5 separate regions of the Homo sapiens genome follow, and all the other regions are linked to region 4. The links are contacts of gene promoters, found by promoter capture Hi-C in blood cells and fetal thymus (Javierre and others, 2016). All regions are on one chromosome and are shown on one strand. The core of a region is centred on a gene start or on the middle of the fragment in contact, and the rest is flanking DNA. Distances in the headings are between cores, read along the strand shown.

What was found. Contacts are between HindIII fragments. The CHiCAGO score rates a contact against its expected background, and 5 or more counts as called.
Region 1: a fragment that was not itself captured here is called in contact with the fragment with the promoter of PEBP4-AS1 in region 4 in 4 of 17 cell types (naive CD4 T cells, activated CD4 T cells, non-activated CD4 T cells and 1 more); the score reaches 6.8 in naive CD4 T cells.
Region 2: the fragment with the promoter of LOXL2-AS1 here is called in contact with the fragment with the promoter of PEBP4-AS1 in region 4 in 4 of 17 cell types (naive CD8 T cells, total CD4 T cells, non-activated CD4 T cells and 1 more); the score reaches 10.4 in naive CD8 T cells.
Region 3: a fragment that was not itself captured here is called in contact with the fragment with the promoter of PEBP4-AS1 in region 4 in 5 of 17 cell types (naive CD4 T cells, naive CD8 T cells, non-activated CD4 T cells and 2 more); the score reaches 7.5 in naive CD4 T cells.
Region 5: a fragment that was not itself captured here is called in contact with the fragment with the promoter of PEBP4-AS1 in region 4 in 5 of 17 cell types (naive CD4 T cells, M0 macrophages, M1 macrophages and 2 more); the score reaches 6.5 in naive CD4 T cells.

The regions. Positions count from the first base shown.
Region 1 is chr8:22,375,224-22,377,923 of GRCh38, reverse strand. The region is part of intron 1 of SLC39A14 (solute carrier family 39 member 14); the gene reads right to left. Among named protein-coding and RNA genes, the nearest start is that of SLC39A14, 9.3 kb to the right of the region's middle. The HindIII fragment of the contact is 5,847 bases long and covers 1-2,700 here.
Region 2 is chr8:23,334,931-23,337,630 of GRCh38, reverse strand. It overlaps LOXL2-AS1 (LOXL2 antisense RNA 1), which reads right to left and starts at 1,423. Exons shown (of 3, transcript NR_038323.1): 1 at 174-1,423. The region is part of intron 4 of LOXL2 (lysyl oxidase like 2); the gene reads left to right. RefSeq lists an enhancer at 1,379-1,628. The HindIII fragment of the contact is 1,425 bases long and covers 143-1,567 here.
Region 3 is chr8:22,403,135-22,405,875 of GRCh38, reverse strand. SLC39A14 (solute carrier family 39 member 14) reads right to left here. Exons shown (of 9, transcript NM_001128431.4): 2 at 896-1,180. The coding sequence starts at 1,165. Among named protein-coding and RNA genes, the nearest start is that of PPP3CC, 37 kb to the left of the region's middle. The HindIII fragment of the contact is 5,831 bases long and covers 1-2,741 here.
Region 4 is chr8:22,876,593-22,879,292 of GRCh38, reverse strand. It overlaps PEBP4-AS1 (PEBP4 antisense RNA 1), which reads right to left and starts at 1,321. Exons shown (of 4, transcript NR_125433.1): 1 at 1,142-1,321. All of the region lies in intron 3 of PEBP4 (phosphatidylethanolamine binding protein 4), which reads left to right. RefSeq lists a silencer at 1,669-1,738. The HindIII fragment of the contact is 10,906 bases long and covers 1-2,700 here.
Region 5 is chr8:22,428,487-22,431,186 of GRCh38, reverse strand. It overlaps a transcript of SLC39A14 not described here. Among named protein-coding and RNA genes, the nearest start is that of PPP3CC, 11 kb to the left of the region's middle. The HindIII fragment of the contact is 236 bases long and covers 1,194-1,429 here.

The DNA of each region.
Region 1 (2,700 bases), core at 161-2,660, 500 kb after region 4:
AGCATAGCCGAGCGGGCACAGATCCAAATGGGGTATTCAGCAGGTAAGATGCTGATCAAGCATTCAGTACATCCTAGTGCAGCTCTGGGTGCAGAATCACAGAGTATGTAAAATCAGAAACACTTGCCTCTGCCTCCAGATGTTATCATCTCAAAGGCGAGTTGAGTCAAATAATCTATAGTCCACATGTGGAAATGTGTGTTAATCAGGGCCACGATAATAGGAGCAAAACCAGTGGAAAATAACCTTCACCCCAACTAAGAAAATGACTGAGAGGGTTTTTCACTGTTGGAGAAAGAAGTCATCATGAAAAGGGAAAGACTAAAATAAAACGAACTTTTTGAGGTTAGATCAGAATAAGCGTTATCAGTACAAACTCATATTCTTTAGCATACATATATACAGATAGGTGCTGAATTATCTGTTTCCTAGCTTTGTCTGCTGAGAGGACCCAGAAGCAATGATAACTGCTGTAGCAATGAACATACCTAGCAACCAGACCTTGGTTTCTAAACAGCATTCTCCAATAAAGGAAAGCAGGACTCCGTGGAGAAGTGCCTGACTCTAGGGCTGGGGCAGCGAAGTTACAAGATGAGCCTGGAATATTTTGTAGTAAAGGAAATTAAGGAAACACTTAAAAAAAAAAATGGCAGGGGCTTACCAGAAGAACACAGGAGACAACCGGAAGGAGCTCCCAAAATGGTCAAAGCTAGAACAATTTGAGCCTCAAAAAATATTATTCAACTTTAACCCACAGAACAAAATCTGATTATGAATAACCAAATGCATAAATAAATGGGGAAGCAGGGCCAGCTCTTGCTTACAAAGAATTCCAATAAATAAATGTACAAGAGGGAAATAGAGAATCATTAGTCAAACATCACAGTCATCATTGTTGCAAGCAGGGTCTACAGATGGGTGCTAAAATTAGGGGATGAAAGTACAAGGAGAAACAGGATTTGCATAGTCTCAAAGTATCTCCTGAAACTACAAAGGGAAAGAAAGATAACTTCTTCAGTTTATCCATTCAGTATTTTTTTTTTCCCCAGACATTGTCTCACTCTGTTGCCCAGGCTGGAGTGCAGTGGCTCCATCTCAGCTCACTGCAGCCTCCACCTCCCAGGTTCAAGCGATTCTCCTGTCTCAGCCTCCCGAGTAGCTGCAATTACAGGTGCATGTCACCATGCCTGGCTAATTTTTGTATTTTTAGTGGAGATGGGGTTTCACCATGTTGGCTAGGCTGGTCTTGAACTCCCGACGTCGGCCTTTGCCTGCCTCGGCCTCCCAAAATGCTAGGATTATAGGTGTGAGCCACCGTGCCTGGCCCCATTCAGTTTTTGTAAAACAACAACAACAGAAAACCCACCTTTTTTCAGTGTGGAAATCAAGCAGACACCAGCCAATCTAGATAAATGTCACCAGTAAAAAAATACTCCAACATGGCCGAGTGCAGTGGCTCACGCCTATAATCCCAACACTTTGGGAGGCTGAGGTGGGTGGATCACTTGAGCTCAGGAGTTCAAGACTAGCCTGGACAACATGGTGAAACCCTGTCTCTACTGAAAATACAAAAAAAAAAAAAAAAAAAATTAGGTGTGGTGGCTCATGCCTGTAATCCCAGCTACTTGGGAGGCTGAGGCAGGAGAATTGCTTGAAACTGGGAGGTGGAGGCTGCAGAGAGCCGAGATCACACCACTGCCCTCCAGCCTGTGCACTGAGTGAGACCCTGTCTCAAAATTAACAACAACAACAAAAAACTGTGACATGATGAATACCTCTAAAGGATGCAACATCACTTTGCGTTCCAACATTCTAGCAAGAAAAGAGGGAGAGACTGCCACAGATTGCAGCAAACTAAGGAGAAATAACTAAACAGTGTGGGATCCCATATCAGATCCTGGAAACAGCAAATGGACATTAGTGAAAATATTGGTGACGTTTAAATAAGGCCTGCAGTTTAGTTAACAGTGTTATGCCAATGTTGATTTCCTGCTCCTGATTATATAATTATACTCTGGGGTGAGGAATATAAAGGAATTCTGCTATATTTTTGCAACTCTTCTGTACATCTAAAATTAGTTCAAAAGAAAAGTTTAAAATAAAAGGAAATGGTTAAGCAAACTAAGATACAGCCATGGCTGGGTGCAGTGGCTCATGCCTGTAATCCCAGCACTTTGGTAAGCCAAGGCGGGTAGATCACCTGAGGTCGAGTTTGAGATCAGTCTGGCCAACATGGCGAAACCCCACCTCTACTAAAAACACAAAAATTAGCCGGGCATGGTGGTGCATGCCTGTAATCCCAGCTATTATTAGGGGGCGCTGAGGCAGGAGAATTGCTTGAACCTGGGAGGCGGAGGTTGCAGTGAGCCGAGATTGTGCCACTGCACTCCAGCCTGGGCAACAGAGTGAGACTCCGTCTCAAAAAAAAAAAAGATACAGCCATAAGGCAGAATAAATGCTTAGGGAGAAATTTTGATGTCGAGGTAAGATGGGTGTAGATAGCCAATTGTATCCCCTCCCCCCAAAAAAAAAACAACTGTAAGGAAATATGCCAATATGTAAAGAGAGACTGCAGCAGGATTATCGACTTTCCCCCAAATACTTTTTTGCACTTTACAATATGCATGCATTACTTTTAATAATCAGAAGGAAATAAAGTCGACAAAAATACCAAACAATTGTTTGGGGGAATTCTGTGTA
Region 2 (2,700 bases), core at 174-2,673, 460 kb before region 4:
GTTGCAGCTGAGGAAGTTAGAAAGGCCTCCAGCGGTTTGCCTGGTTGGTTGGCTGAAATGTGGACCAAAGTGTGGCCCACAGTGAGTGAGTAGAAATGCTGACCCTGCCTCTGTTGTGTGTAGAGGACAGAATTCAAAAGCTTAGGGAGGTTGGATGTTAGAGTGGATCTTACCTTTAAGACCTCCTCACCCACGCTGGGAAGCTCCTGAAGACATGCCTTTCACCTTGATGGTGAGAAGTAAATATATGAAAGGAGCTCCAGCCTCCTTGAGGAGCTGTGATCACTCTTCTCTGAAGGCCAGACCTCACAGCAGGAACAGCAGCCACTGAACCAGTAACCTGAATGCGACCGGAGTAATTGGCTCCAGGGTGGCGGGGGCCCCGTGGCTGTAGTACTACCAAAGGCAAGGTGGACGTGCTGACCCTATTGGACAGTGGAGTCAAAGCAGAAATCAGTCTGACTGCTGCAGACCTGTGGTGTTGGCTGGTTGATCATGATGTTCCTCGAAGTGAAATAGACAGGAAGCCTACTAAGTTCGTACTTAATCTGTATAAGCAGAAAACTTCTAGGTCAAGCAAACAAAAGTCTATCCCAAATCATAAAAGCAGAGTAGAGTCATGACCCCTCAATCCATTCCCGTACTTGAGCCAGTTTTATCAGACTGGAAGCTCTTGAATGAGGGAAAGGCTGGGTACCCTCAAGGAAGCACCCTCGTAGCCTGCCAGAAATCTATACTGTATTCTTTCTCCCAGTTCTCCAAAGACACCTTTCACCAGGATGAGCGTGCATTGGAGAAAAGGAAATAATCAGATCTTTTGGACTACTGGCCACTGGTTCTGAGCTGACAGTAATTCTAGGAGACCCAGAACATCAAAGTGGGGGCTTATGGGTTTTTAGCTTACGTCCATCTGAAACCCATTCTGTGCTATTTCCCCACTTCCGGAAAGCATCATGGAAATAGATGTACTCAGCAGCTGGCAGAATCCCACGGCATCTGCCTTCACTCTTGGCAAGGGGAGCACCGGTCGGTAGGACTCTTGGTTGAATCAGTCCAGCTCCGTGTTCTTCCTACAGTCCAGCTATTGGCCTAGCTGCCTCTTTCACAGGCAGGCTTCCCGCTCCACTCCACTCAAGGCTGCCTCACTCACTCCAGTCACTCCTCCAGTCTCCAGGTCTGGAGCGGGGTGGGCTGTCTTCCACCCTCCGTGGGCCTCCGTCTGCAGCTCAGAGGCCTGTCCCCAGTGAAACACTGGGATGGAGGAGGGGAGGGGAGGGTATCCCCTGGGAGGCCTGAACGTGCTAGAGGGTCTGCAGCACATTCCTGGGGGCTGATGTCAGAGGGATCCGGGCTGCTGGGGACAGTTGTTTGCTGTGGGCTCTGCACTCTTCATTTAGAACGCAGGACATCTGTTCCTGGAGAGGGTGGCGCTCACTGACGGCTGGAAGCAGAGGGGTTTTCCTGAGCCAAGGCAGGCGGTGAGGTCTGACCAATCCTCGAGCAGCTGGTGTTCCCCCGAGTATCTTCTCCCGCCCCTGTGTGGGCGTCATGGAACATGCTGTAAGCTTCCAAGTGCAGGGGCCTTGCAGGAAGTGTGTCTGGAGGGCAGTGGTTCCTGGAATTATTAATAGCCCTCCTGAGCAGTTCTCTGCCCTGGGCTGCCGCTGTGGTGAGCACGCACCCTGAATTTGCCAGGATAGTCCTCAGCAAGATTCCGTGTCATTGTGTTCACAAGCACACTAGAATTGTAACAAGTCTCAGATTTGGGTTAAGGAGAGATGATAACTGTGTCTGTAGGATTTGCCCTTCCTCTGTCTTCACACCCCATTCACTCTGAGACAAAGGAGGTACTTCCAGGGCTGCTGGACCAGCAGGGATGGGACCTCGCCTCTGCCCTGTCTTGGGGTCAGCCTGCCCAGCGAGTACCCTCTGCTGGCTCCTTCTGGCATCTTACTGGGTCCTGCCGTGCAGGGACAAGCACACGGGCCCTGAAAAGCTGGGTCGACATGAGCAGGTAGCAGGGCCTTCCTGGACCTCCTTTGTTTCAGATCCCACCATCATTCAGGGCCCAATTTAAAGGCTTCTCTTCCGTAAAGTCTCCCATCACTCCAACCATGGAATCCCTCCCTCCTGTCACTCTTCTTTTTTTTTCTTTAACAAATACAGTTTTATTTATTTACTTATTTATTTCACAAACTCTTATGTAGCTCTTCCTATCTCTGGGCACTGTTTTAAGTGACAAGTATTAACTCATTTAAACTGTCACAACAGGCCAGGCACTGACGCATGCCTATAATCCCAGCACTTTGGGAGGCAGAGGTGGCCAGATCACCAGAGGTCAGGACTTCGAGACCACCCTGGTCCCAGGAGACCTCAACTTCTCCAGAGTTCTAGCCTCTTCTTAAAGGGCCAGAGTCATGGGAACCCAGATGGGGTGAGGGGGTCTCCTGCCACGGCCTCCTTACAATGATATGACTTGGCATAAATTTGGATACTACCTCCAAATACAGATTTATGGTCTGGCGTGATAGCTCATCCCTGTAATCCCAACGCTTTGGGAGGCCGAGGGAGGCAGATTACCTGAGGTCAGGAGTTCGAGAGCAGCCTGGCAACACGGTGAAACACTGTCTCTACTAAAAATACAAAATTAGCCGGATGTGGTGGCAGGTACCTGTAATCCCAGCTACACGGGAGGCTGAA
Region 3 (2,741 bases), core at 222-2,721, 470 kb after region 4:
GCTGGCTGACTTATATTTGGCTGCCACAAATAGCCCCAGAGTCTGATTAGCAGAGATGATATGGAAGAAAGAACACAGAATCCAAAGACCTGGCGTTCCAGCCCTGGTCTCTGCAGGGACTCACTGCGGGACCCTCGGTGTCCTCTCCTATAAAATGCAGATAATCTCACCTGCACCTTGAGGGACTGTGGGCTCACCCGGGATAGTGTGTAATGGACTCTGTCAATGGTAAACTCTATGAGAAATACCGTCCTGGGAGCCGTGTTTTCTCAGTATTTCTGAGTGACTCAAGTGCGGCGCTGAGGAAGATTCTGGGGGGCTGAGAACCCCACTTCCAGGCTGCCTTTTATTTTGTTTTGTTTTGAGACAGATTCTCGCTCTGTTGCCCAGGCTGGAGTGCAATGGCTCGATCTTGGCTCACTGCAACCTCCACCTCCTGGGTTCAAGCGATTCTCTTGCCTCAGCCTCCCAAGTGGCTGGGATCACAGGCATCCGCCACCATGCCTGGCTAATTCTTGTATTTCTAGTAGAGTTGGGGTTTCACCATGTTGGCCAGGCTGATCTCGAACCCCTGACCTCAGATAATCCACCCGCCTTGGCCTCCCAAAGTGCTGGGATTACAGGCGTGAGCCACTGTGCCCAGCCCCAGGCTGCCTTTTGTTAAGGGCTTCAGAACACCTATGCAGGGGGTCAGAAGGTGCTGCAGAAGACTCAGAATTTGCTGATTCAGACAATGAGAGAGAAAGAATCAGCCTGTCCACTCTATCATCGAGACTTGTCTGCCTCATCCTACCTCTGCCAAGCTGCCAGGCTGCCCTGGGCCCAACTAGACAGGGAACCCTGAGAGGCCAGAGACGGGGCTGAGCAGAGCTGCTGGCTCACAGGGGAGCCTTACCGTGGAGAGGTTCCTGTGTCCTTGCACGTGCTGGGTGACATTACCCCGGCCCACTCCCACATCCAGGTGGTTGAGTAGGGCCTTCAGCTGCTGCAGAGTGAGGCTGTCACCCTCGCCATACCGATGTATTAGATCCTGCAGGAAGGAGGCAGCGCTGATAGCTGGTGCACCCAGGGATGAAGCGTGAGCCTCAGGGGTGGTTCTCCATAAGCCAAGCAGGGTCAGCAGGAGGCAGCTCTGGAAGGCCGGGTGCAGCAGCAGCAGCTTCATGGTGACTGAATAAACCTGTGAGAGAAAAAGGCAGGTGAAGCTGAGGCCTCTCCCTGTGTGCCGGCAACTGCGCCAGGCCCGCCCGCCACACACTGAACATGTTGAGACTATCCCTCAGTCTCTGCTTCTCTGCTCCTTCTTGAATTAGCCTTTGAGAAAAACCCTTCTTTTGAAAGCACAGAATAAAAACGAATAAAAAGGACAAATTCAACAGTTTTGACTAGATTGAAAAATGAAAAAAAAAAAAACAAACAGCAATGCGGTTATGATTTTTTTTTTTTTTTGAGACGGGAGATTCACTCGTTGCCCAGGCTGGAGTGCAGTGGCGCAATCTCAGCTCACTGCAACCTCCGCCTCCTGGGTTCAAGTGATTCTCCTGCCTCAGGCCTCCCAAGTAGCTGGTATTACAGGGGCCCGCCACCACACCCAACTAATTTTTTTCTATATTTAGTAGAGATCGGGTTTCATCATGTTGGCCAGGCTGGTCTCGAACTCGTGACCTCAGGTGATCCACCCACCTCGGCCCCCCAAAGTGCTGGAATTACAGGCGTGAGCCACTGCACCCGGCCAGTTATGATTTTTTAGAAGTCGTTTTAGAGGTACTGAAATAACCATGGATTTGACATCTTATATCTGGGGACTGCTTCAAAATAATAAAGGAGGGGGTATGAGCACACGGGTGTGGATGAGACATGATCAGGCATGAGCTGATATTCACTGGAACTAAGTGACAGGTAGATAGGAATTCATCAGACTCTCTGTCTAGTTTTTGTTTGTTTGTTTGTTTGTTTGTTTTTGAGACAGTCTTTCTGTCTCCCAGGCTAAAGTGCAGTGGCACGATCTCGGCTCACTGCAACCTCCACCTCCCAGGTTCACGCAATTCTCCTGCCTCAGCCTCCTGAGGAGCTGGGATTACAGGCATTTGCCATCACGCCTGGCTAATTTTTGTATTTTTAGTAGAGATGGGGTTTCACCATATTTGCCCGCTCGTCTCAAACTCCTGGGCTCAAGTGATCCACCCACCTCGGCCTCCCAAACTGCTGGGATTATAGGCATGAGCCACTGTGCCCGGCCCTGTCTACTTATATATGTTTGAAATGCTCTGAAATAAAGCTATTAAAAAATAAACATCGGCCGGGCACTGTGGCTCATGCCTGTAATCCCAGCACTTTGGGAGGCTGAGGTGGGTGGATCACAAGGTCAGGAGTTCGAGACCAGCTGAGCCAACATGGTAAAATCCCATCTCTACTAAAAATACAAAAAATTAGCCAGGCATGGTGGTGCACGTCTGTAATCCCAGCTATTCAGGAGGCTGAGGCAGGAGAATCGCTTGAACCTGGGAGGCAGAGGTTGCAGTGAGCCAAGATCGCGCCATTGCACTCCAGCCTGGGCGACACAGCAAGACTCCGTCTCAAAATAAATAAATAAATAAATAGGCCGGGCGCAGTGGCTCATGCCTGTAATCCCAGCACTTTGGGAGGCCAAGGCAGGCAGGTCACGAGGTCAGGAGATCGAGACCATCCTGGCTAACACAGTGAAACCCCATCTCTACTAAAAATAGAAAAAATTAGCCGGG
Region 4 (2,700 bases), core at 72-2,571:
GCCTGGTGGGATAGGCAGTCCAGAAGCAGACATGTCGCAATGCAATATGTTGAGTGCTGTTCTGTCAACATTGAGAGCGTTGAGGCCACACTCTCGTTCTGTGGCCTCACACAGATCAGTTAAACCTCCATGTCTGGTCTTCATCGTCACTGGGGATATTTGCTTCCCTTCCTAGCTGAGATCTATTCACTGTGAGTGGGCTCTGAGATGAGATTAGGATAGAGCATAGTAAAATGTTTCCCATGGGGAAGGGCTTGTCCTCTCTTTCAGTCTCTAAAGAGATGAAGGAACACAGAGGAGATACCACCCGCCCCATAGCCACGCTAAGCTGGGAACAAGAACTATAATTTTTAGCTCATCCCCCTACCCGGTGCTCTGTGATAAGAAACCAGCCCAACATCATTCTGGATGCCCTCTTCCAGCCTCCAGGGTCTGCCCGTGGTGGCTTAACTGTGATGACAGTTAAAATGCAAGAATACTTTCAAAAGGAGGGCTATTTTCCCCTTGGCATCCAGCTTGGCCTAGACATCCAGTTTGCTCTCTGTTCCCTGAGCTCCAAGCCTCCTCTCTGATGAAGCCAGGGAATGCACCCCTGTTTGGAGATCCTGTGCTCTGCCGACTTGCTCAGGCTGGCCAGTAGCAGAGTCCGAGTGAGCATCCCAGAGGAAGGAGGCCAGAGTACCCAAACCCAGAGGTGCCAGGCCCGGAGAGGGAAGCCCTCCCCACCTGTCTGCGCTTTGTGATTAGATATGAGCAATAGGGTAACTCACAGGCAGCAATCTCAGTCACTTGGTGTGTCAGGTAAACTGACGGGCAGAAAAGTGAGAAAGCACCACTTGGAAACCCAAGGCCACTGCCACACGGCCGGGTCCTGCCACCTCTCAGAGCCCTCCCACTGAGCATGCACTGACCCTCCACCCTCTCCCGCAGAGCCCATGCTGGTCTGACCTGCAGGATGTGTTTTCCGTAGAGGCCCCCAAATACCATCTTACCAGGCCAGTCCCCTACTATATTCTCTAACCTTAAATTCCAGGGATTCCGCCCCTCCCTCCCTCCCTCCCTCCCTCTCCCCCTCCCTCTCCATGCTCACCCTCCACCCCCTTTCCCTCAGGAGCTGCTCCTGTACCTGGAGTAGATTCACCTGCAAACACTCAGCTTGCAGGAGCACAGCAGACTGGGGAGTTTCCTTTCCCAGCCAAGCTGAGTTTGGAGGGGGGTGTGGGAGGAGGTGGGGAGGGCTGGGGACACAGGTTGAGTCTCTAAAGAATGAGGACTGCATTGCCTTCTTCCCTGCCTCCTGGTTACAGCTGAGAAAGTAACCAACTTCGTGTGTGTCTGTGTGTGTGTGTGTGTGTCTGCGCACGCGTGTGCAGTGTATGGATGCACAGACGGCCCCTCCATGGTGGGGTGGGGAGCCGTTCTCTCACCCTGCAGCTTTCTGCCTCTCCCTCCACCCTCCTCCGACTCCCTGCGTCCCACACTGCAGGTGTCTCTGAGGCAGTGTTTATGTAAGCAGCTCATGTTCTGCCGAGCGACAGCGAGAAGCTGTTGTCAATTCGAGGAAAGCCCCCGGCTGCCCACATGTGTGGTTGTCCCCGTGGGTTTCATAACAGGAGGGGGAGGTGGGGAGGTGGGGTGGTGGGCCCCTGGGGTGAGGGTGGCTGGGCTCAGCCCAGCCCAGGAGCCTCCTCCCCGCTGCCAACAGTGAGCCCGCCCGTGTGTTCACAAGCTGCTGGCCTCACCTCCTCTCCTCCCAGCTAGTTTCCCAGCCATTTGGCTACGGAGAGACAAAGTCAGTGCCTCCTGGCTCTGGCTGGCTCTGCCCAAGAATGTAGTACTTGGGTCGTGCTGGGCTACTGGAGTCAGGGCAAATAACCTGACATTTTGAAGGCACAAAAGTCCCAAGGACCTGCCAACCAACCAGGAGGTTGGTTTGATTCTGACCTCAGAATCAAAACATGGACCTGACGTTTTGATTCACAATAAGGACACGTAGCCCCATCATCTTTCTATTCCAAAGTCAGCTGTCCTCACCTGGACAACTGAGGACAGGGAGAGACTGGACAAAAAGGGCTCTTAGCCATTACAGTAGAAATGGCTGGGACACCTTATCCCTGAGGCTGAGGGCTGTTTGAGGATTCCCATTCAGCACAGCCTGGTTTGAGGAGGAAAGAAAAGACCAAAACATGGTGTCCACTTGATATGTTTATAAGGGTGGAATAAACTCCCTGAAACCCAAATCATAATTCAAATAGCTAATATATATGGAGTGCTTTTCTGATCCAAGCATCATGCTATGAAATGTACATTTCAGTCCTGGCAAAGACTTAATGAAGGAGGCACTATTAGCCTCATTTTAAAGATAAGGGTCCAAGGCCCAGAGAGGTTGAATAACTAGTCCAGCCTCACACAGCAGTTAAGGGAGAGGTTCTCCTTTCTACCCTGAACATTAACAGAAATGTGTTTACATTTTCTGGCTAACCAAGCCAGATTTTGGCTTTGCTCCAAGGAAGCTAATGTCCCACCTGAGAAGTAGCTTTGTTTAAACAGTGGAGAAAATAATTCCTAACTCATTTATTTACTTCTAATTTTACACTTCAAGTGCTGTTTATTTTCACAACAACACAAGCGCTATAAACATACACTGTCATCGATGAAGCACGTTTGTGAGGTGCCCCTGGGCTGCAAGTTGAGGTAGAG
Region 5 (2,700 bases), core at 62-2,561, 450 kb after region 4:
TGAAACCCTGTCTCTACTAAAAATACAAAAAATTAGCCAGGTGTGGTGGCACGTGCCTGTAGTCCCAGCTACTCAGGAGGCTGAGGCAGGAGAATTGTTTGAACCCAGGAGGCAGAGGTTGCAATGAGCTGAGATCACGCCACTGCACTCCAGCCTGGGCAACAGAGGGAGACTCCATCAAAAAAAAAAAAAAAAGAGGGAATTGGGAGTCCCAGACCGGCTGCGGCAGCTCGCCCCTATAATCCCAGCACTTTGGGAGGCCGAGATGGGCGGATTACTTGAGGCCAGGAGTTAAAGACCAGCCTGGCCAACATGGTAAAACCTTGTTTCTACTAAAAACACAACGATTAGCTGGGCATGATGGCACAGGCTTGTAATCCCAACTACACAGGAGGCTGAAACAAGAGAATGGCTTGAACCCAGGAGGTGGAGTTTGCAGCGAGCCGAGATCACACCACTGCACTCCAGCCTGGACGACAGAGCAAGACCCTGTCTCCAAAACGAAAAAAAAAGAATTGGGAGCCCCAAAGCTGCCGTCACTTCCTGCTTGTGACTGTTGTTGTTTGCATCATTGCAGAACAGGAGAAAATGGTGGCAACCAGTACATAACACATTTGGTGGTTCCACAGGTAAGATACCAAGGTAAACAGCACTGGCATTCAAGTTGCTTGGACCAAAAATTTAGAATCAGGGACGCCTTTCCACACACTGTATCCTGTCAACTTCCTCCCCCTACCGTCTATTTTCCTATACAGCAGATCTTTCTAAACTTAAAGCATAAAACTGATTTGTCATTCCTCTGGTTAAAACTCTCTTGTGGTCTAAGGGCGATGGCCCACGCCTGTAATCCCAGCACTCTGGGAGGCTGAGGCAGCAGGATTACTTGAGCCCAGGACTTGGAGACCAGACTGGGCAACTTAGTGAGACCCCGTCTCTAAAAAAAAATTAAATTAGCCAGGCTGGTTGAGGTAGGTGGGAGGATCTCTTGAGTCCAGGAGTTTGAAGCTGCAGTGACCTCTGACCCCATCTCTAAAACAAACAAACAAAAACAAATGTCTTCTCCTTTCCCGAAGTGGTCTGACTCCTGTCAACTTTGAGCTCCCACCAACCTTCTTCCCTCATGTCTGCTGCAGTCCAGACAGACTGGCCTTGTTTCTGCTGTTTACACATACTGGCCTCAAATAGATGAAGCTTATTTCTGTCTCAGCATTCTTGCGTTGGCCGGCCCTTTGGCTTAGAACATTCTTCTACAGTCACAAAGCTCAACTCAGATGTCATCTGGTTAGAGCCCTTTCCTGATCACCTCTATCCCTGTCTGCCCATTCCCTACCTCACTCCCCCGTGTTAATTTATCTGTAGCACTTGGTTTTTGTTTATTTCCCCTCACTCCTTAAGGGAAGGATCTTTCACTGCTATGTCATGCCAAGCTTGGCAGAGTTGGAGCTCAACAATTTGTTGAATGAATGGATTTCATCTTACTCTTGTCTGCAGCAGAAGTTTTTCACCTGGGGCACAGGGGCTTCAGGAGATCATTCCCTTCTCGTCTACCTCCCATCCCCATGCTGCTCCCAATTATAAATGAAATTAAAGGTTGGAGTATATTTACACATGCTATGAGTGTGTATGAGCAATCATGTATTTTTCAGATTCTCAAAGGAATCCAAAGAACAAAATGTTAATTACTACTAGTACAGAGCTTTAATTTCTAAAACATTTTGCATATTTACTTCTCATTATACTTATACCTACCTTATAAGGTAGGCAGTATAAAATTATAATTTCTACTTCATAAAAATATTGAGGTGCAGAGAGGTTAAACATGTTAGAGATCACACAGATAGTCAATGATGGAATTGACATGAATCCATTCCTATGGATGCAAAATCCTGTGTTCTTTTTTTGTTTGTTTGTTTTTGAGACGGAGTCTGGCTCTGTCGCCCAGGCTGGAGTGCAGTGGTGAGATCTTGGCTCACTGCAAGCTCTGCCTCCCGGGTTCATGCCATTCTCCTGCCTCAGCCTCCCGAGTAGCTGGGACCACAGGTGCCCGCCACCACGCCCAGCCAATTTTTTGTATTTTTAGTAGAGACGGGGTTTCACCGTGTTAGCCAGGATGGTCTCGATCTCCTGACCTTGCGATCCACCCGCCTCGGCCTCCCAAAGTGCTAGGATTACAGGCGTGAGCCACCACGCCTGGCCATTCTGTGTTCTTTTTCAAGACAAAGACACAATGCAGAACTCTGGGGAAGTAAGTTTGCATTGGTTCTTACCTTCGTTTGCTCAAAAATTACCAAACATCAACACTTTTCCAAGGATTCTCCCATTTAAACTAGTTTACAAGGCTGCTTTAAGTTTTTCAGTGAAAAAACAAAATCATCAGTTAGATCAAGGCAGTCTTCCATGCAGTCAGCCTCCATTTCAAACAAAATGTTAAAAGAACACATGAACTGGCCTGGCGCAGTGGCTCATGCCTGTAATCCCAGCACTTTGGGAGGCCAGGCTGGGCGGATCACAAGGTCAAGAGATCGAGACCAGCCTGGCCAACATGGTGAAACCCTGTCTCTACCAAAAATACAAAAATTAGGTGGGTGTGGTGGCATGCGCCTGTAATCCCAGCTACTCAGGAGGGTGAGGCAGGAGAATCGCTTGAACCCGGGAGGCAGAGGTTGCAGTGAGCTGAGATCGTACCACGGCACTACAGCC